Regions from separate parts of the Homo sapiens genome. Here all the other regions are linked to region 3. The links are contacts of gene promoters, found by promoter capture Hi-C in blood cells and fetal thymus (Javierre and others, 2016). All regions are on one chromosome and are shown on one strand. The core of a region is centred on a gene start or on the middle of the fragment in contact, and the rest is flanking DNA. Distances in the headings are between cores, read along the strand shown.

Region 1 (2,700 bases), core at 47-2,546, 4.1 Mb after region 3:
ATAACTTATAAAGTTGTAAACAACTTCCACGGAATCAGACTCAACCTGGAAGGGTATGGTCTCTAGGCAATGCAAAAATTTTCCCCTACACCTGTTAACAACTATAATATCTCCAGACAGAGTAGACAGAAAGTCTGGATGGCAACGGGAATCTACTGGTCATACGGCTAACTTCCTAATTCAATAAGCACGTGACTAAAGGATTTTTTCCTTCCACTCAGATATTTCAGGCTAACTAGATACTGTGTGCTTCTTAGTGTCACTGCTTAGTGGGGGAGCCAGCTCTGAGTGGGGTCATATCCGGACAAGCGAATGAGCTATTTATTCAATGACCACGCAACACTCCAAATCCTCCCAGGGCAACTTGAAAGTAACCGCACCTTCCAAAGGGCACCGTGCAATCAGACTGTGTGTTTGGCCTCCTGTTTGCTAGTGGGGAGGAAGCGGCTTCATGGGTGTACACTACGCATAAATGAATGTGAAAGGCTATTTAGACCTCTGCCTTTTCACCGTCCTCCCACCTGCCACAGGCTGGGCTCTTGTGCTAGAAATGACTTGCTAGCTAGACATCATGGTTCAGGATCTGAGTCAGAGGTTTAACCATTTATAAGCTTTTTTCTTATGAAAAATTGGCACTAATTATAATGTCTAACTGTCAGAGTTGTTGCAGGCTTTACAGGAGACGCGGGCTGTGAAGATGCTTTGTAAATTGTGAAGCGTTATTAAAGAACACATCTTTTTTTTTTAGGAAACCACAGTGCAAATTTAATTGCCGGGGAAGATAACGGGCCTTGGTGCCCTCCAAGCGTCAGCTGAGTTTCCAAGAAGCCGGGCAGCGGGCGCCCGCGGGTTCGTCTCTGGCTCCTCCTCCGCCACAGCAGCCGGGGGCCCGGGTCGGAGGCGGCGGGGGCCGAGCGCCCGGCCTCGCAAGCCCACGGCCCGCTGGGGGTGCCGTCCCGCGCCGGGGCGGAGCAGGCCCCGGCAGCCCAGTTCCTCATTCTATCAGCGGTACAAGGGGCTGGTGGCGCCACAGGCGCTGGGACCGCGGGCGGACAAGGATGGGTCCGCGCGGCGCGGCGAGCTTGCCCCGAGGCCCCGGACCTCGGCGGCTGCTCCTCCCCGTCGTCCTCCCGCTGCTGCTGCTGCTGTTGTTGGCGCCGCCGGGCTCGGGCGCCGGGGCCAGCCGGCCGCCCCACCTGGTCTTCTTGCTGGCAGACGACCTAGGCTGGAACGACGTCGGCTTCCACGGCTCCCGCATCCGCACGCCGCACCTGGACGCGCTGGCGGCCGGCGGGGTGCTCCTGGACAACTACTACACGCAGCCGCTGTGCACGCCGTCGCGGAGCCAGCTGCTCACTGGCCGCTACCAGGTACGCGGCGCCCCCGCCGCCCGCGCCGCCCCCGCCCCGCCTTTCGCCGGCGCCCTGCCGCTCCTACCCGGCCCTTGAGGCCGCGGGCGCTGGCAGGCGGGGCTCGGACCGCCGACCCAGTTATGGGTCCCGGCGGCTTCTCGCCCCAACCTCGCTCTTCCAGGCCGGCAGCCCGCCGCGGCCTCTGCGCATGCCCGGCTCTGGCGCCCCGCGGACCCGCGCCCCGGCCGCCGGGTTGGGCGGGTGGCTTTGTCTTTCGTTTTCTGAAGCTCCGGGCGAAGGGGTTTATGGGAATGCCGGGTGCTGGGCGCCGCGGCCGGCAGGCGGAGCGGTCCTGAGGTGGGAGGCTGGGGAGGGCGTGGGCTGGGAGCAAAGACGAGGGGAGAGGTAAAATGAAGGGGTGCTCGCCGTGGGTGCGACCCTGGCCCGTGGGAACCCAGCGGTGATAGGTTAGGAGTGTCCCACCAAAGATTATTTTTTTCCAGGTTCTCAACACCCCTGGAATGAAACCTGATGCTAGGTTGATTTTTCTTAGGCTGCTGACATTCCTTTCACATGTAACCTTGTATTGAACTCTTCTGAGCATCTTCATTATCGCTTTAAAAGCTTCCCTTTAGGAACGGCTCCACAGTTAACGAAGGAAATATAAATGTAGAGCGTGCATAGATGTTAGATGGCTAAGAATATCAAGAACATTTGCATAGCACTTTGTTGTTTTTAAAGTGAATTATTGAAACAGTGCATGAGGTAGTTGTTTTTACCCCGTTTTACAGACGAGGCAGGAAGCCTGTAAAGGCTCGTTGGCATAAGAATCGCACAGCTAGAAAGTGGTCAAGGCAGTGTCCGTTGTGCTTTTCCTGCATCCACTGGTCGTCCCGGGCTTATGAAATTGGCCTTTTTTCCCCTCAATCTGAATACGATTGTCATATTTCTAAGACCCTGAAGTTATTATGACCATATTAAATACAGTAAATGGGAACTGTTGGATACCACCTGCATGCCTTCACAGAGTACATATGCTGTTTACTCAACAAAAATATTTTGAGCTTACTGTGCTACTGACAGGGGATATATATTTGAATGTTGCCCTCCCAAGTGTGTGTTCGCATAACCTGTCAGATCAACCCTAGCCTCACGTGGTCCTAAGATCAAGAGAAGGGAGGGCTTACTTGTGATAAAGATATGCGCAGTGGTCTGAAGGCTTTTATAAAGAGGAAAGATTGGGTGTTGCTAAGGGTGAGAAATAGCTGTAGCCAAGGTTAGAAATGGGAGTAAAGGATGCTTCCCTTCACCATCCACCTTAGTACTTTTGGCGGTTCTGACCTTGGCT
Region 2 (2,943 bases), core at 348-2,847, 3.6 Mb after region 3:
GAAATTTGAACCCGCAGCCTTAGCTCCGAAAAGGCCGAGTTACCTGGCTCTCCCTGAGTGTCGAGGAGGACATGAGTGAAATGACCAGCGAACTCATTTTTTATAGGACTCGGTGAAGCCGGATTCTGCATTTCCCTACTTGTAGACTCATTTTGTGGAATAGAGTTGATCGCTGTCTCCTCCGCAAAGCATTTTAACTCGAATAAGCAAATGCCGCCTCTGTTTGAACGTTTTGGTATTTACAAGAGAGAAATCATTTTACCTAAGAGAACTAATTGAATTGGCAGCATCCTTGAAATACCTCCGGACAAGGATCTGGGGGTGGGGGTGGAAAAGCAACTGCGAAATAGCAGACGGAGAAATTCCTTTGGAAGTTATTCCGTAGCATAAGAGCTGAAACTTCAGAGCAAGTTTTCATTGGGCAAAATGGGGTAAGGATTTTTGTGCTTAACACAGCTTCGAATCTGTTTATGTATGTGTATTATTGAGCGGTGGTGGTGATTGTGTTTTGTGTTTTCAAACAAACTTGCCACCTTGCTAAGCTGGTCATACTTTAAAGAAATAGGCATGCTAACCTTTTAGGTTATTTTTGCATTTTTGTAGAGCGGTACCAGAGGTCATAATTTAAAAACACATATATCGTTTGTAACTTGAATATGGATTTGTGAGTAATGTTTACAAAGACAACGCATTCTACACTTTACTGGTCAGACTGCTGCATCAGTTTGTAATCAAAATCACATTATTTTAGCTTTTGCTGACGGTTATCTTTCAAAGAGAAGTACTGCATTCTCTCAGTACTTTTAGATAATCAGTTGCACAAAGGAACGATTTTAATGAGTGGTTAGACAACAGTCCTTGAAAGTGATCCAGAGTAAATTGTTGCCCTCACCGTGCCCTCTGTCTTGTCCTTGAATATTCAAAGCTAAAATGTATAGAATTGATTTACTGGGGCGTTAAAACGAAAATCTGAAATTCAGTCTTACTGATGCGGTCACCACGGTACGGGTGCATTTCGTAGGAAAAAGCTTTTTGTTTAAGGAACTTGTTCACTCCTTTTGTTTTTCGCTTTTAAGCTCAGCCCTTCAGTTTGAGTTAACAGTATCAGATCTACACCTTCCTTCGGACCCAGAGCCAACTGAGAGTGCATTTTCCAGTCTTTTATTAACTCTTCACACTGTGGGTTGATGAAATGCTAGTGACACTTCCTAATTTAAGCTGGAAACCCATAATATATTAATGGAGCAATCTGATTTCATTGACAGGTTGTCACTGCTTTTTGGCAGAAGAACTTCCAGAATTTTCTCTTTTTGTGTGTGTGTGGTTGAACAAACACATCTGAAGTGTAGTTGAGGGGCATGTTTTAAAGAATGGACTCTGCAATTCATCGTGATGGTTTAGGTGTGTACACACGCTTGAAACTTTCTGAGGAAAGTTCTTGAATAGTACCTTCCTTTTGGAGTTAGAATTTGAAGTTTAACATGCATAACTTTGAAAATTTAGAGCATGTTGTAGGAGACGTTCCTCAGAAATTAATGACAAAGTTATAATGGTTTTAAAAACTTGAATGACAAGTGATGAGAATATATATAACTTGCATGATTTGGGGGTACCGCTAAGAGTAATTAAAATACCTCATTCTATTTCTAGCGCTGCTATTAGTAGCTTAGTGATCTGAGGCAAATTACTTGACCTCTGTGGACTCTATTTCTTACCTGTAAAATGAACGATTTAGAGATGACTTAAAGATTTCTCCAAACTGTAAAAAACGAATTGCTTTCTTTTTATTCTCCTCCTCATTTTAATGATCACTAGTTGGTTTCTGCAAGTCGATCTTTCTGATGGAGACCTTTTTCACTCTAAGCAGTTTAAGCGCTTAACGCTGAAAAATAATGGCATTTGAAAAATGTTTTGGATGAATTGCACCAATTTTAAATGAGAAAAATACTGAAAAATACTACTGTTCAAAACCTTAGAAATATGGCTTCCCTTGAGCATCTGCAGCTCTGTTTAAAACATGTTGGAGGAAAAAAAATCAAGCAGCAGTTTTTCATGTTGATGGCTGCATTTTGTCTAGACTGTGGAGTAGTAGCATCATGGAAGAAAATCAGTTTTCCAGAACCTTTAAGCTGCATGAATGCCTGTCATTTTACCAAGGGAAGCTTAGGATGAATTTTTTTTTCCCTGCCTGAGGTTTCTTTGTACAAATAGCACAGGAGGACCCCAGCCCCACAGCCCCATGCAGATGGCAGCCTGGCGGGGGGTCGCACCAGTCCTGTCCTCACGTTGGCAGATAGAGATATCTACTCTGAAGCCTCTGTAGGGGCCTGGGCACCTTTGGGAGCCTGAGCTGGAACTGAAGCTGGAGCTGCAGCCTGGGCCTTGGTTTGATCCTTGTCCTTGGCCTTTGGCCAGCACACCCTGAGCCCCTTGGCAATGCGGGCACGAGCATGCTTCCCAAGCTTGGGGTGGACAGTGTAGGCAAGTTGAGCTTGCGGCTGACACCCTTTGGGATCTTGGGCTTAACCTCCTTGGGCTTTAGGAGGGCCTTGATAGCCTTGGCATGTGCACTCATGGCCTTGGCACTGTTAGCCTGCATCTTCTTTAGGCCCTTCTTGTTGTGTTTCTTGGCAAACTGCATGTTCCTCAGGAACTTGGGGTCCACCCCCTTAAGAGATTCGTATCTTTGTGCTTCGGGTTTCTTGATACCATTTCTGTGCCATTTTTGGGACTGGTTGTGTGTGGTGTGGTTCTTGGACTTGGCCATGTCTGCACCTTAAGGCGCGGCTCCTGAAGCGCCTAGAATCTGAAGAGACAGGATGAATTTAATACTAAGGGGGCTGTTGTTTAAAGTGGGAAAGTTAGCACCACACATAACATGCATTTAGACACTTAGCATAATTAATTTGTTTATAAATGAATGTATCTGCCCTTTAGTTAATA
Region 3 (2,700 bases), core at 19-2,518:
AGACTCAAATATCAAGTTAGTTATAGTTTAAAACAAAACCTTTGTGTGCCCTAGTGAACAATGTAAACACAAATAGCAGAATCCCAAATCTTCTAATCATTGTGTTGCCCTAAATACAAAAGGGTCTCATAGGCCGAATACAGTTCATAAACCAAAATCTCACGTGAGTTACCTTCTCTCTTTCTCTCTATCCACCTTCTAAGTCCATAAAAAATTGAAAACATTCTGAAAAGAACTCTCTCCTGCCTGAGAAAAAATACACCACACATTTAGAACCAAAAGCTTGCCATAAGGGGGCAAAGAGTGAAAAACTCTCATTTCTAATACTTTATTAGAATTCCAAGAACTACGCAAATTCAAACATGTCAAAGCGCCTGTTTCTCCATCGATAAAATGCAGAAAGAAAAACGTGTGTGTGTAGTAGAACCTCACCTAATGGGATAATTAAAATCAGAAAAAGCTAAATACTACTACTGATTAAAAGTTGCCTTGTCATTTGTCTTGCCAGTTGATCTCTTTAAAGTACCTAATCAATCGCTGCAGTCCGCAAACGGCAGTTCCTTCCCATTGGTTACCACAGAAAGTTCTTTCCTGACCTCAAATTGCCTAGTACGTTTCAGCCTCGATGCCTGGTTGGAACCCACAGTTTACCAATATCTGGGGATTGAAAGGACAGGCCAGTGCTGGGGAAATGCTCAAACAGCCTACTCAACACTACCCTCTGGATTCAACCGTCCTCCCAATCCCACAACCAACACAGAGCATTTCAAAAGTGCTTCGCATTCCCAAGAATCCCTCAGATGCAAACGGAGAAACTGAAAAGGGGGTGAACAGGTCGCACCCTGAGGATAATGCCGAGAACCCTAGCATCCCCAAAAGCCCACAAGAGGAAGTCGCGGGAGCTCACAAATTGAGGGGGATTCTCGCATTGTGGAGTTCTAGGGGTAAGTAGCAGGGAACTTTTTTAAAAAGAAAGCAAAAAGATAAAAAGAACAGAACCTCAGATTTTTGTTATTTAAAGAGGCAGCCCCACTTCCGGATCCTACCTCTCCGTGACTCTACTTCCGGTATCTTCCAAAACGCCCGCTTTCACAGATCAAGGTTTTGCAACCAATGAGAGTATCAGCTACTTCCGCCGGCCTGCGGGACGTGATCTAAATCCCGCCTTTTCCGGTGGAGAGGAGCCTATCCTAGTGTCTTAACCGCCCGTCTTGGTAGGCGGTGCCGTGACAAGCCCAACCGGACGGCTGGAGAGGGCGAGAAGGGCAGACGGGACATGCAGCCTCTTCCGCCTGAGCCCCGGAAGGGTGATGTGGCTGCGGCATCGCCGGCCTCGCTATGGTAAGAAGTGGGGCTCCCAGGTCGCGGTTGATCTTCGAGAAGGGGTTGTGGATCTAGACTAGGGCTGGAGTTTGTGCGGCAGCCCGGGGTGTGTGGGCCCGGAGCTGAGAGGCCTTGGAGCCATGTGGTCCCTCCACGGCCAACCAGAGAGAATCAGGACGGACTGTCCGAGGAAGACTGCTGGGTCGGCAGCCCGCCCCTCATGCAAAGTCCGCTTTCCTACTTTGTTTAGGAAAAAAAAATGCGTTGGTGTGTTTTAACACGTTGGCTACGTAGATTATGTGTGGTCATTGACCCTTTGAAGCATTAGCGCTTCTCGAGTTTCCGCTTGTTTTGTTGCAACTCCTTATCTCGCCCTAGGGGCTTTACTCTGGTGTTATTGTTTGATTTTTGGGGGGAGTTTCTTTTGGCACCAAACTCCATACCTTCATTTTCATCTGTTTAGTCAGTAGCCTCTCAAGACCCTTCCACCTTCTTCTCTTAACTTTGAAAATGCTGCTTTACAAGCTATAGGTTTTAATAGTTAAGAGTTCTCTGCAAAGGTGGATTGCCCTTCTAGGAGCTTAATGTACTTATTGGAGTGGTGTCTAGCCTCAGGCCTTCCTCCTCTTTTACCTCCAGGTCCATGTGCCAAATGTTATGTATATTTCTGGACAAAGGATGCATGCCTGCAAATAGACCCAAAAACAACTATGACTCCAAAAAGCTTGAGTCTCCATGGTGAAAAATTATGAGCCTATGTTCACAGAAGTTGCTGCAGAATCCCATATAGCAATAATTCATTTTCTTCTCTGGACGAATTTACCACCTGGTGGGAAGATGGCAGTTGAGACTAGGAAGACTGCCACTCTTAATTCTTATACATCTTTCTAGAAACTGAAGTTGAATTCTTCTACTCGTAGTGCAAGTCAAAGATAACTCTTTTTATTATCTCACTGTCAGACTAGCTAAAAATAAGATGCATATACTGTGCTTAAGATCAACAGTATATAAACTATCTTGTCATGCTTGTTTTTCCAAAAGTAGCAAATGCTTTCATTTATTATCACGTCCTATGTACCAGGCTCTTTTCAAAAAATCAGTTTATAAGCATGGAAATATCAAGTTCACAGCAACTTCTGAATAGATGTTTACAAGTGAAAGAAGTGAAACATGAAGAGACTGACTTGCCTCGGATCACACCTAGTAGATTGTAAAGCCAGTACTCAAACTTATTTTAATGTCCAGGTCCCCGAAATCTTCATGCTGTTATCGATAGAAACACAACATAACTAAGGATGAAATAAGACTTAGTGATTTGTTTCTTATAAATATAAGTACATAAATTAGACATAGGTGGAAAACGGAAACAACTGGCAG
Region 4 (2,700 bases), core at 196-2,695, 4.0 Mb before region 3:
GGCAGAATGTAAATCTTTAAGTTGTCTTTCATTTTTTTTTTCTTTTCAGTTTCTAAAATAAATAGCACTGTTAGCAATTACTCATAGATTTCTTTGTTAATATAAGAAAACATTTTGTAAGATTAGACTCATTTTATTTTTAAAAAGAGCTTCAGTATATGAATATGTGATGTTTAATATAAGCTTAAAAGTAAGAAGTCCCTTCCCTTATTTTCTTAGAGTACAACTGTAGGCAATTAGAATACATTGAAGTGGGTTAAAAGGCAGAACCTAACTTGAACTTCCTTTTGACCACCTGTACGGTATATTCTCAACACTGGGGCCATTGGTTTTGTGGCTTTGTTTCCTGCTCACTGGACTGCCTGGAGGATGGGCTTAGGGTGTGACTTTGCTCATTTCCTTTTTGTCACCTCACAAAGCCCTGCTTTGTTTGCTTTATCTAAGACCTCTGTGCTACCTAGCTAAGTTTGGCTTCCTGTCCAATGCTGTTCACTCTGTCTCCATGGATCCAGCTCAATTGGAAGAAAAAGCAGATGAAGGCCTGAATGTCTACTGAGTTTTCAGTGACTTCCTCAAACTTCTCACTTACCTTTCAGTGCTGGCATCGTCCAGGTCATAGGAGAAAGTAGTAGGGGTGACTCAAATATTTAGTATTTGCACAGTAAAAATGTCCAGCTATGCCAGGTGGAGTGGCTCACACCTATAATCCCAGTGCTTTGGGAGGCTGAGCAGGAGGATTGCATGAGGCCAAGAGTATGAGACCAGCCTGGGCAACATAGTGAGACTCTGTGTCTACAAAAAGTTTTTTTTTTAAAAAATTAGCTGGGCATGGTGGCATGTGTCTGTAGTTCTAGCTACTTGGGAGGCTGAGGTGGGAGGATCATTTGAGCCCAGGAGTTTGTGGCTGCAGTGAACTATGGTTGCACCATTGCACCCCAGCCTGGGCGATAGAGGGAGACCCTGCTTGTAAAAAGCAAGCCAAGCTCTTTACTGGCTGAAATTGCATGGAGTAAGGGAGGGAGTCGAAATTCTGGGGCAGAGAACTACCTTTTGTTGTTCATATGTGTTTGTCTTTAATAATGTTCCCCAGTATCTTATGTTAATGAGGAACATTAATGCTTTGACATCGTTTCACGGTGCCACTTCAGGGAATCACTCTTGCTTATTCTAAGGAGGATTTGGAGCTGTACCGAGCTAAAAGTCTGAATTTGGAGATGATAGTGGTGACCTTATAGGCAATATCAGGTACAGATGGAGCTTTAATAGTGAAAAAGTAGACTGCTCAGAGTAAGTATGGAGGATCATACTTCTGCATACACTGAATGTAGTTGTTTCTTTTCCACACAAGCACTCTCTACAAGAGAGGTTTCTTTAGAAAGAATTGGACCTGATGGAGGGTCATTCTATCAGAATGAATTTTTTAGGTTTCTTCCTTACAGTTAACATCTCTGAAAGGTACGGATACAAGTTATCTACAGGGTAACACCTGTAGATATGATGCAACAGGCTTATGCCATTGGAGAGTGAATAGTCAACCTTCTGAAAACAGTGTACACCACCGGAAGGGCAAGAAAAAAAACTGTGAGTAACCAGTGAGTCTGGGTGCCTTGATTGGGGTCACTTTCAAATAGTGATTTTTTTATTTTTGCTTTGTCACCACATGGTTTGCATGTGTTGAAGGACAGTGTTATCCAGTAGGATTTGTCTTAGGTTTTTTTTTTTTTTTTTTTTTTTTTTGAGACCGAGTCTCGCACTGTCACCCAGGCTGGAGTGCAGTGGCACGACCTCGGCTCACTGCAACCTCCACCTCCCAGGTTCAAGCAATTCTCCTGCCTCAACCTCCTGAGTAGCTGGGACTACAGGTGCCCGCCACCACGCCTGGCTAATTTTTTGTGTTTTGAGTAGAGACAGGGTTTCACCATGTTAGCCAGGATGGTCTTGATCTCTTGACCTCGTGATCCGCCTGCCTCGGCCTCCCAAAGTGTTGGGATTACAGGCATGAGCCACTGCACCTGACCTTGTCTTAGGTTTTCTAGTGGAGGCTTGAGCCAAAGAAATTTTCATGCTGTACAGAAAGTCAACCTATTTCTTAACCATTTTAAAAAATGACACAAGGGTTAGATTTTTGAGGGGAGGGATCAGTTAAGCACATTGTATTTGCCTTTTCATCAATTTTAATGTTTTTCACTAGCGTAAAATACACAACTGCAGTTACTCATATTCATCCTGGAACTGCAGAGGACACAGAGATTTTGTGACCAAGGCAGTCATGGACAGGTTGCTATCTTACACTATACAAATGCTGTCTTACTTCCATTGCCAGTTATGAACTGCATATAAAGTTTGCACATAATTACTAAGGCTGAATAAAGGATCACTACTATTATTACTGTTGCAGATGTTGGTGCCATCTTCTAGAATATCGGAAGTTTTATGTGAAGTTAGGTATAATCTTTTGGTAGGGTACTGCTTTCATATCATTATTGGACTGAAAATGACTATCCTCTAGATTCATTAATGTGCTTAGTCTAATTTCCTAATTCGCCACCATCAGAAATGTAAATCAAAGCTCCAGAAGTATGGCTTTTCAAAATATGAATTTATTTTGTAGAAGAAAACTTATATTGTATGTTTGTTGGCAAAGTAGAGAGCATGTTCTTGTCTTCCATGAAGGCTAATGGCATTTTCAACTGTTAGATC
Region 5 (2,700 bases), core at 90-2,589, 4.3 Mb before region 3:
CCAAGCTGTTGTAAGGATTAAAACATGATGATAGTTTCGTGTTTAGCACAGAGTCTGGCACATGGTATACATTCAATAAATGGTAGTGCTGCTTCTGCCATTCAGTTGGCAGCAGTGATCACAAATCATGGAATGGATACATGGTTATATCACAAATATGGAGTGGCTTTAGAGAGAAGGCTTATTGCCTTGCCCATGTTTTTTTGTCAGTATTTTTATAAGATTGGTTAATCTGTGAACGTTTGTATTTTTCTTCCTGAATTTATCTAATTCAGAACATTTTTGATAGTCTGATTTCTAATACACACACACACACACACACACACACACACACACGTATTTTTAAATCCAGTGACCATAGGAAGGATTAGCCAGAGTAGGCTGGGGATAGACAAGCAAAGGATGGGAAAGAATCTTTTGGCTATGGCATTTCTGTAGTAATTCATCACAATTTGTTTTGATTAAAGAAGAATTAATGAGTATTAGTATTTTTCTGGGTAATCTCTACAAAGAAACCTTTCCATAAATAAGTTCTGTTTCACAAAATTTAACATTTAACATTTGTGACTAGATCCTGATGATATATTTTTTTTAACCCTTAGGGTACGGCTTGTATGTATTTCAAACGTTTTTATCTTAATAACTCAGTAATGGAATATCACCCCAGGATAATAATGTGAGTATGTCTGTCTAATATATTGTTTTCATTTAAGAAGACCTTTATAATCTTTTGAGTATTTTTTGGGAGGAGAGAATTGTGAGAGAGAGAGAGAGAGAACTGACTTCCTAATACAGGGTAATTTAGACTTGAATTCTATTTTTTTTTTTTTATTCAGAACTTGAGATCTCTGTTTACCTGTACTTCAGTAATTCTGATGGTATGTGAACTTCAGCTTGTCCAGATTCAAATTTTGTTTTTCTCAAATTAGCTACTTCTCTAACATCTCTTCCTATTAGACACCTTTGTTCTTCCAGTTGTTCAGACTGAGAATCATTTATAGTGGCCCCTCCCACATCCAGTCAGTTTACGGATCCTATAGCTTCATACTCATTTCAGTTGAACAAAGGTCTGTTGTTGCTGCTCTCTGCTGAGCGCTGTGTCTATCATTAAAAATGAAATTAGTATGAAACTCATCAAAGAGTTTGCTCTCAATGACATTGTACCTGTTTTCTCTTTTTTGATTCCCATTTCCACCAGTCAAGATTAGGCCCTTGATCTCACTGCCAACTGTTTTTTACAGTAGCTTTCTTACTGTTTTCTCATACTGAACAGCATGAAGTGGCCAGGTGAATTTCACAAGTTTGTCCCTTAAATAATAGTCCCTTATTCAGATGCCCTTAGAGACTTCTGCCGATGGCCTTCCACAATGTTCCTTTAACCTACTTTTCTTCCCATACTTACATGGTACATATGTGGGTACTGCTTTATTTTTAACTCTTCCATCTACATTATACAAAGTACTCTTATTCCTCAGTTAATTTGTTTTTCCAGATATTTAGGTTGTACTGCATAACACTGTCATTGAGTCAGTGATGTTTGAATGCCATGGCAATATTGGTTTGACCTAATTTTATAGTTGTCTTACGTCTCCTAATGAAGTGTGAACAGGAAGTGTCTTTTAAAAAACAATTCTTGCAATGTCTAGCAGTCGCTTTTGAATATTAGGCAATTATAGAATATACTTTTAGAAATAAATTATTTAGATACTTCTCAAAGTATATGCATGTTCTTCCACCCCACCCACCCCCTGCCTCCTGCCTCCTTATTTTTTCCTCTAGGCTCACTTGTGCATTTTTGGCCTGCAAAGTAGATGAATTCAATGTATCTAGTCCTCAGTTTGTTGGAAACCTCCGGGAGAGTCCTCTTGGACAGGAGAAGGCACTTGAACAGATACTGGAATATGAACTACTTCTTATACAGCAACTTAATTTCCACCTTATTGTCCACAATCCTTACAGACCATTTGAGGGCTTCCTCATCGACTTAAAGGTAAACTTGATGTAAAATAAACTAATACTACATTCTCCTTTCCTATTCTTTAACAAAAGAATCCAAAATTTTAAAACTCATAATCATCCTCGTTGTTATAGCATGGATACAACCTGTGGGTCTGGCCTGGTCATCTAGGGCAGTTGTTTTCAAACTTCAGTGGGCATCATCAGTCATCTGGAGAAATTGTTAACTGAGATTGTTGGGTGGGACTTACAGAGTTTCTGATTTAAGTGATCTGCAATCTCATTTAAGTGATCTTCATTACATCCAGGGATGTAATGAAGACCATTGAGAGTTTAGAACGGTGCTTACTATAAAGGCTTAAGATAACTCTTCTAACTTTGAATTATATTGTCATGGATCTGGGCCTGATTTAAACCATAAAAAATTCTTAAACTAGAAGATTGCTAAGTGACTTATATTTTTAGAGGTTTGTGAACTTAAGTCACTATGTAGGCATCAATAATATACGTAAACAAACATTGACAAAAGCAACTTTTTTAAGTTGTTTTGTTTGGCTCTAAAAGAGAAGTTGGATAGTCTGAGTCGAATCAAATCAGGAATTGGTTCATTCATGTTAGATCAGTGGCTCAATTTGGGTACCTTCTATGTGCCAAACTTTGTGCTTGAGGATGTAACCAGAAATAGGACAGGAACAGTCTCAACTTTTGTGAACCTTACAATCTAAAGGTTTTAGACAATCATAT
Region 6 (2,700 bases), core at 127-2,626, 3.5 Mb after region 3:
TGCCAACCCACTGTGAAAACTACTTCCAGGTTTTGAACAGGATATTCCTTTTGGTTAAGAATTAAATTACACCCAAGTGTTCAAAAAAATAATCTAGTCACATGGCTCCAAATGGGCATTTCTTAAACAACTCATAAACGGCCTATTTCACATGGAACCTGTTACAGGACATTTCCAGAACAGACATAATTAGGGCTATTCACACCAACAAAGTAACGTCACTATTACTGGCTATTAATCAGTATAAATTAATAGCCTTATGGCTGTTAATCAGTACGTGTTAGAAGCCTGGTGGTACTGAACCATACAATATGAAGATATTTACAAAAGTTACTATGTTACCTGTAATATAAAAACACAGATTTAGTAATCAGTTACAATCTCTTTCTTCACAAAATCATACACTGCACATGTGTTATTTAGCTTGTGTTTTACAGTTTCCCTTTGTTTCTTCTCTGTTCACCCTAATGAAAAATATCTGCTACTTTAAACAAAGAGTTGAAAGAGATAAGACAAGTAATTTAGAGAATCCATAAGTTTTGAGACATATAAGCCTTTCGTGTTCTCACCTTGAGAGACGAAGAGCTTTTCTACAAAGGCTGAACAAGAAAAGAAACGCACACAACAGTCTTAACCTGTGCATTTTCCTATAAAGTGAAAAGCTGAAGCAATTTCATGCCATTTAATTAAGGCTTAAAAGATAAATGCCTTTTAAATTTTTTAATTAATCCAGCTACGTACCTTAGTTCTTCACCACCCTTTGAAACACCATGCAAGGGTCCCAAGACTATCTTCCTCTTTTGGTCCTGGAGTGGTGGACGAGGCAGTACGCGAGGAATAGAAAACGAGTAAGCAAAGTAAGCGGTCCTAAGATTCTTCAAAATGTACAGCAGCCCAGATGCCGCCCATAAATTTGGAATAACCAAGAGATACTGCTGGAACCTCCCACGCAAAACAAAACGCTACCGTTTCGGAAAAGTTTCCCGTGCCCCGCCGCCGACCTGGGCCTACACTGCTGCGTTCCTCTCCGAAACCCCCTAAACTCACAGGTGTCCTCCGGGAAGGGCTAAGCAGGGCCTACCCGCACTGCCCGTTCAGAAGTTCTAAGGCCCGAGCTGGGCGTACTTGGTCGTAGCTTTCTCCCGAACCAAAGGAGGTAGTGGTGGCCCGTGGGACAGCTAGGCCCAGCTCCGGCTCCGGCTGAGATCTAACCCCCCTCACGGCTGCCAGGGGAGGAGCAACACAAGAAAAGGTAGGGGCTGCAAGGATATAGAAGGTTGGGGGCGGTGGCAAAAAGCGGAAGAGCAAAAAGTCGCCGAAAAAGCGGCGTAGAAAACCCTGTCAAAGACACCCGGAAGACCGACGTGACCCCGGATGAGAATAGGCAGCGGGGAGCGAAAGGTCACACTTCCGGTGGCCGCCTCCCTCCCACCCCCCAACCCCCCCCACCCCCCAACCCCCCCCACCCCCCCCACCCCGCCTATGAGCGCTTTGCTTGAATGCGCAGGCGCAAGACAGCCGGATTTGAAAGGAGTTTCTTAACTGCTGCCAGCACAAGTTGGGAAAGGGTTAGGACTGCACTAAGAGGGGTGGAGCAGGCAGTCGCCGGAGGGCCACTTCTGGGCCCCTTGCCTGAACTCACGTGCAGCCGTTCTAGCTGTAACAGACGTTTTCTGTGGGTCCTTCGTGTGTTGGCCGAGTGACTTGTCCCCAGAGAAGCCTTTCTTTAACCAGTGTTCCCCTAATCTTCTCCCCCGGAGCAACATTAAACTTTATCTGTTCTTTTGCCCCTCCAGTAACCTGAGAGCTTCTTTGGAAGGAAAATGCTTTCTTTGGCCGGACGCGGTGGCTCACCCCTGTAATCCTAGCACTTTGGGAGGCTGAGGCGGGCGGATCACGAGGTCAGGAGTTCGAGACCAGCCTGGCCAACATGGTGAAACCCCATCTTTACTAAAAATACAAAAATTAGCCGAGCTTGGTGGCGTGCGCCTGTAACCCCGCTACTCAAGAGGCTGAGGCTGGCGAATCGCTTGAACCCGGGAGGCGGAGGTTGCAGTGAGCCGAGATCGTGCCACAGCACTCCAGCCTGGGCGACAGAGCAAGACTTTGTCTCAAAAAAAAAAAAAAAAAAAAATGCTTTCTTTCTCTCTAAAGCCTGGACTTAGCGCCTTGCCCATAGTAATAGCTGGTATTCACTAATTCAACAAATATTTATTGATATCGCCTCTTGAGTGAGCTTTAATAATTTGTAGAAATGTCTAAATTGTTTAATAATGCAAATCTGTTAGCTGTATTCCTTTATTGTCCACTTAATGTCTATAAAATCTGACCCCTCAGGTTCTGAAATTGGTAATTTGTGTGTCATCTTTTTTTCTGATCGATCTGGTGAGGGGCTTCTCGGTTTACGGATCTCAAATCTCAAAGCCCGTTTTTGCTTTCTTGGATTTTCTCTACTGGTTTTCTGTTTTCTATTTTATTGATTTCTGCTCTTATGTTTATTGTTTCCTTTACTCTGCTATTTTTTAATTTTTAAATTTCTTGTTTTGTTTCTCTAGTTTCTTAACTCAGAAACTGATGACCATTAATTTTAGATGTCTCTTGTTTGTACAGGCATTTGGTGTGATAAGTGTCCCTCTATACTGTTTTAGCTACATTCCACATATTTTGATATATTGTATTTTCATTTTCCTTCATTTCAAA
Region 7 (2,700 bases), core at 141-2,640, 3.8 Mb after region 3:
ACGAATTTGTGTTTCTCGCGCTCGTCGAACACATGGGGCCGCACAGCCACCCAGTCCGACTCGAGCGTCTCCTCCAGCGCGAACGACATGGTGGCTCCGGCTTCTCGCCGCGGGGAAGGGCCGCCGGCCCGGCCCGCCCGAGGACTCCCCGCTGGCTGCGCCGCGCCCCCCGCTCACCCTCGCCGGGCGCCTTCAGCCATCTTAGTGCGCCGGCCGGCTCTCCCGGCTCGTTCGCCTGTCCCTCCGCGCCCCGACCGCCGAGCTCCTTTGTGGCGCGGATCGAGAGAAGGACAATAAGCGTCCCGGGAGCAGGTAGTTCACATGGTCACCTGCGGCCGGATCTGTTTACAAGCTCCGCGCTGCCGCAGCGCCTCGCGGCCGCCCGCCGCCCCCCGCGCGAGGCCGTGGAGCTGCGTCTGCGGCGCTCCGGTGGTGAGGCGCGGGTCCCGCGGGGTCAGGCCGGCGCTGTATGCGTCCCGGTCGCTCGCCCAGGTCAAGATCCCCGCCCCCGCCCCTGGTGCTGCTGCAGAAAGCCCGGAGCCGGCCTGACTGATGAACCCGTCTCCTAAACTCTGCGCCTCAGCATCGCCACAATGTTGCCATTCGACTGCTGACGTCGGCGGCTCCACGAGGGACGTAAACATGGGCACGTGCCGCACGCTGGTGACGCGGCGGCGGCGGCGCGCGCACCCCGCCCGCGCGCGCCGGCGCCTCCTCTCGGCGTCCCCTGAGCCAGCCCGCGAGCGGCCGCGCTCCCGACTCTCCTTCCTTCCGCGCAGCCTCCAGTTCCCCGGGGCTGGAGCCGGCTGTCGGCTGGTTGCCGGCTCCGAGGGCGATGAGAGTGGCAGGTGTGCCCTGCTGCACAGGTGGCCTCCGAACCCGGGAAAAGAGGAACTAAGGCGGAGGAACTGAGACGTTTCGAATTCCAGGTATTGAGACCCTCGAATGTACATTTGCCTCCATTCTCCTGGAGGGAGCCCGGACGGAGAGTCGCTCCTGCGTTCAGAAGTAGCGTGTTGCCGCGGGGAACGGTGTGCTGAACTATGTGGGGCTCGCCCCCAGCCTGTTAGGTTCTCCCCTAATGCCCTTGAGACCAAAACAAAAAACAAAAACAATTCCAGAAGCTTTTCTGGAAAGACAGAGTTTAATATATGAAAGGAAGGTGTCTGAGGAAAGCCCAGTAACAGTCCAAAACAAAATGAAAAATGAAAATGCCATGTCCTAACAGCATGAATGTTTACATTTCAGTTCATTGGTGTTTTATTGCTTCAGGTTTCATCATTATGTACTGTTCTGTGAACCTCGTTTTGAGGTCACTGGGCTTTAGCCCTTTTGAAGTTGTATTCAATTATGGGAGTTCCCAGAATGCATATACAAAAACAGTCATATCAATCTCTGCTATTCTTACTAAACTATGATGAAACACATTCTTAAAATTAGTAGACTTTATAATAATTATTGGCATTCTTTTTCCGATTAGTATTCAAGTCACAGATGTTGTGCACCATAGTAAAGCACAATGGAAATTAGTTCTTTTACATTTATTCACATTTCTAAAGTATATACAAAACCGTTTGGATTAGCCTTGTATTGTTAGGTTCAGTAAAAACAGCTGTTTATTCAGATGACAGAACAGTACTGAACTAGCTAAGCTTCAAACTTAGTTCAGTATTGTCCATCTTAAACTCTAAGCTTCAACACTTGGTTCAGTATTGTCCTGATATTTGAATAAACAGCCAAAAAAAATTTTTTTTTTGAGACAGAGTCTCACTCTGTGGCCCAGGCTGGAGCACAGTGGCACGATGTCAGCTTACTGCAGCCTCTGCCTCCCGGGTTCAAGCGATTCTCCTGCCTCAGCCTCCCAAGTAGCTGGGATTACAGGCACACACCACCAAGCCCGACTAATTTTTGTATTTTTATTAGAGACGGGGTTTCTTCATGTTGGCCAAGCTGGTCTCGAACTTCTGGCCTCAGGTGATCCGACCGCCTTGGCCTCTCAAAGTGCTGGGATTACAGTCGTGAGCCACTGAGCCCAGCTGGTTTTTAACATTTTGTACAGTTCATTATTTGAAACCACAAATTTTCAAAGTTTGTAACTGAGTTTGTGTCAAATCTCAAATGCAAGTCAGAGACACGTTCTGAAAGGCAAAAAAGAGAGAAAACCCATTTCAAATCTGAATTACGGGGCTGGGCATGGTGGCTGACGCCTGTAATCCCAGCACTTTGGGAGGCTGAGGTGGGCAGATCACTTGAGGTCAGGAGTTCAAGACCAGCCTGGACAACATGGTGAAACCCCGTCTCTATAAAAAATACAAAATTAGTCGGGTGTGGTGGCACGTGCCTGTAATCCCAGCTACTTGGGAGGCTGAGGCAGGAGAATTGCTTGAACCCGGGAGGCGAAGGTTGCAGTGATCTGAGATCATGCCACCGCACTCCAGCCTGGGGGACAGAGACTCCACCTCAAAAAAGAAAAAAGAAAAAAGGTTTGAATTACCAGCTAAGCAAACAATAGCACATTGTAGAAAACTTTCTCTTCTTTTTTGCTAAAAAGCAACTGCAAAAAGCTAGTTTTTCTGATAAAGCATTACTGACATGATCCCATTATGTATAATTGTGAATACAGAGAATGAGTATTAAAAGAATTTGTTTACAAGTTCTCTTCAGAGTAGAGGACAAGAAAAAGAAAAAAATTATTATTTA

The links. Contacts are between HindIII fragments. The CHiCAGO score rates a contact against its expected background, and 5 or more counts as called.
Region 1: a contact is called between a fragment that was not itself captured here and the fragment with the promoter of TMEM167A in region 3, in 2 of 17 cell types (total CD8 T cells and non-activated CD4 T cells). The highest score is 7.8, in total CD8 T cells.
Region 2: a contact is called between a fragment that was not itself captured here and the fragment with the promoter of TMEM167A in region 3, in 1 of 17 cell types (total B cells). The highest score is 6.7, in total B cells.
Region 4: a contact is called between a fragment that was not itself captured here and the fragment with the promoter of TMEM167A in region 3, in 1 of 17 cell types (total B cells). The highest score is 5.2, in total B cells.
Region 5: a fragment that was not itself captured here is called in contact with the fragment with the promoter of TMEM167A in region 3 in 3 of 17 cell types (total B cells, total CD4 T cells and naive CD8 T cells); the score reaches 14.6 in total B cells.
Region 6: a contact is called between the fragment with the promoter of TENT2 here and the fragment with the promoter of TMEM167A in region 3, in 1 of 17 cell types (total B cells). The highest score is 5.1, in total B cells.
Region 7: a contact is called between a fragment that was not itself captured here and the fragment with the promoter of TMEM167A in region 3, in 3 of 17 cell types (total B cells, total CD4 T cells and non-activated CD4 T cells). The highest score is 6.3, in total B cells.

Annotation. Positions count from the first base shown.
Region 1 is chr5:78,983,607-78,986,306 of GRCh38, reverse strand. ARSB (arylsulfatase B) reads left to right here and starts at 997. Exons shown (of 8, transcript NM_000046.5): 1 at 997-1,370. The coding sequence starts at 1,059. RefSeq lists a silencer at 815-1,674. The HindIII fragment of the contact is 1,365 bases long and covers 614-1,978 here.
Region 2 is chr5:79,510,258-79,513,200 of GRCh38, reverse strand. It overlaps HOMER1 (homer scaffold protein 1), which reads left to right. Exons shown (of 9, transcript NM_004272.5): 1 at 1-431. The coding sequence starts at 427. It also overlaps the pseudogene RPL29P15. Among named protein-coding and RNA genes, the nearest start is that of HOMER1, 2.4 kb to the left of the region's middle. The HindIII fragment of the contact is 1,134 bases long and covers 1,031-2,164 here.
Region 3 is chr5:83,075,962-83,078,661 of GRCh38, reverse strand. TMEM167A (transmembrane protein 167A) reads left to right here and starts at 1,268. Exons shown (of 4, transcript NM_174909.5): 1 at 1,268-1,341. The coding sequence starts at 1,339. XRCC4 (X-ray repair cross complementing 4) reads right to left here and starts at 1,115. Exons shown (of 8, transcript NM_003401.5): 1 at 1,047-1,115. RefSeq lists enhancers at 221-1,186, 1,261-1,530, 1,187-2,152 and a silencer at 1,111-1,200. The HindIII fragment of the contact is 1,765 bases long and covers 285-2,049 here.
Region 4 is chr5:87,073,061-87,075,760 of GRCh38, reverse strand. The region is part of intron 1 of MIR4280HG (MIR4280 host gene); the gene reads left to right. LOC105379065 (a long non-coding RNA gene) reads left to right here and starts at 492. Exons shown (of 3, transcript XR_948540.3): 1 at 492-684; 2 at 1,440-1,581. RefSeq lists an enhancer at 543-592. The HindIII fragment of the contact is 2,520 bases long and covers 186-2,700 here.
Region 5 is chr5:87,407,266-87,409,965 of GRCh38, reverse strand. It overlaps CCNH (cyclin H), which reads left to right. Exons shown (of 9, transcript NM_001239.4): 3 at 603-676; 4 at 1,780-1,990. Among named protein-coding and RNA genes, the nearest start is that of CCNH, 4.3 kb to the left of the region's middle. The HindIII fragment of the contact is 6,127 bases long and covers 1-2,700 here.
Region 6 is chr5:79,611,117-79,613,816 of GRCh38, reverse strand. It overlaps TENT2 (terminal nucleotidyltransferase 2), which reads right to left and starts at 1,376. Exons shown (of 15, transcript NM_001114394.3): 1 at 742-1,376. LOC124901014 (a long non-coding RNA gene) reads left to right here and starts at 1,480. Exons shown (of 2, transcript XR_007058840.1): 1 at 1,480-1,675; 2 at 1,797-2,346. RefSeq lists an enhancer at 572-1,771. The HindIII fragment of the contact is 9,139 bases long and covers 1-2,700 here.
Region 7 is chr5:79,234,040-79,236,739 of GRCh38, reverse strand. JMY (junction mediating and regulatory protein, p53 cofactor) reads right to left here and starts at 609. Exons shown (of 11, transcript NM_152405.5): 1 at 1-609. The coding sequence starts at 89. It overlaps LOC124901011 (a long non-coding RNA gene), which reads left to right and starts at 717. Exons shown (of 2, transcript XR_007058836.1): 1 at 717-929. RefSeq lists an enhancer at 1-155 and silencers at 98-537, 568-617, 658-707. The HindIII fragment of the contact is 528 bases long and covers 1,127-1,654 here.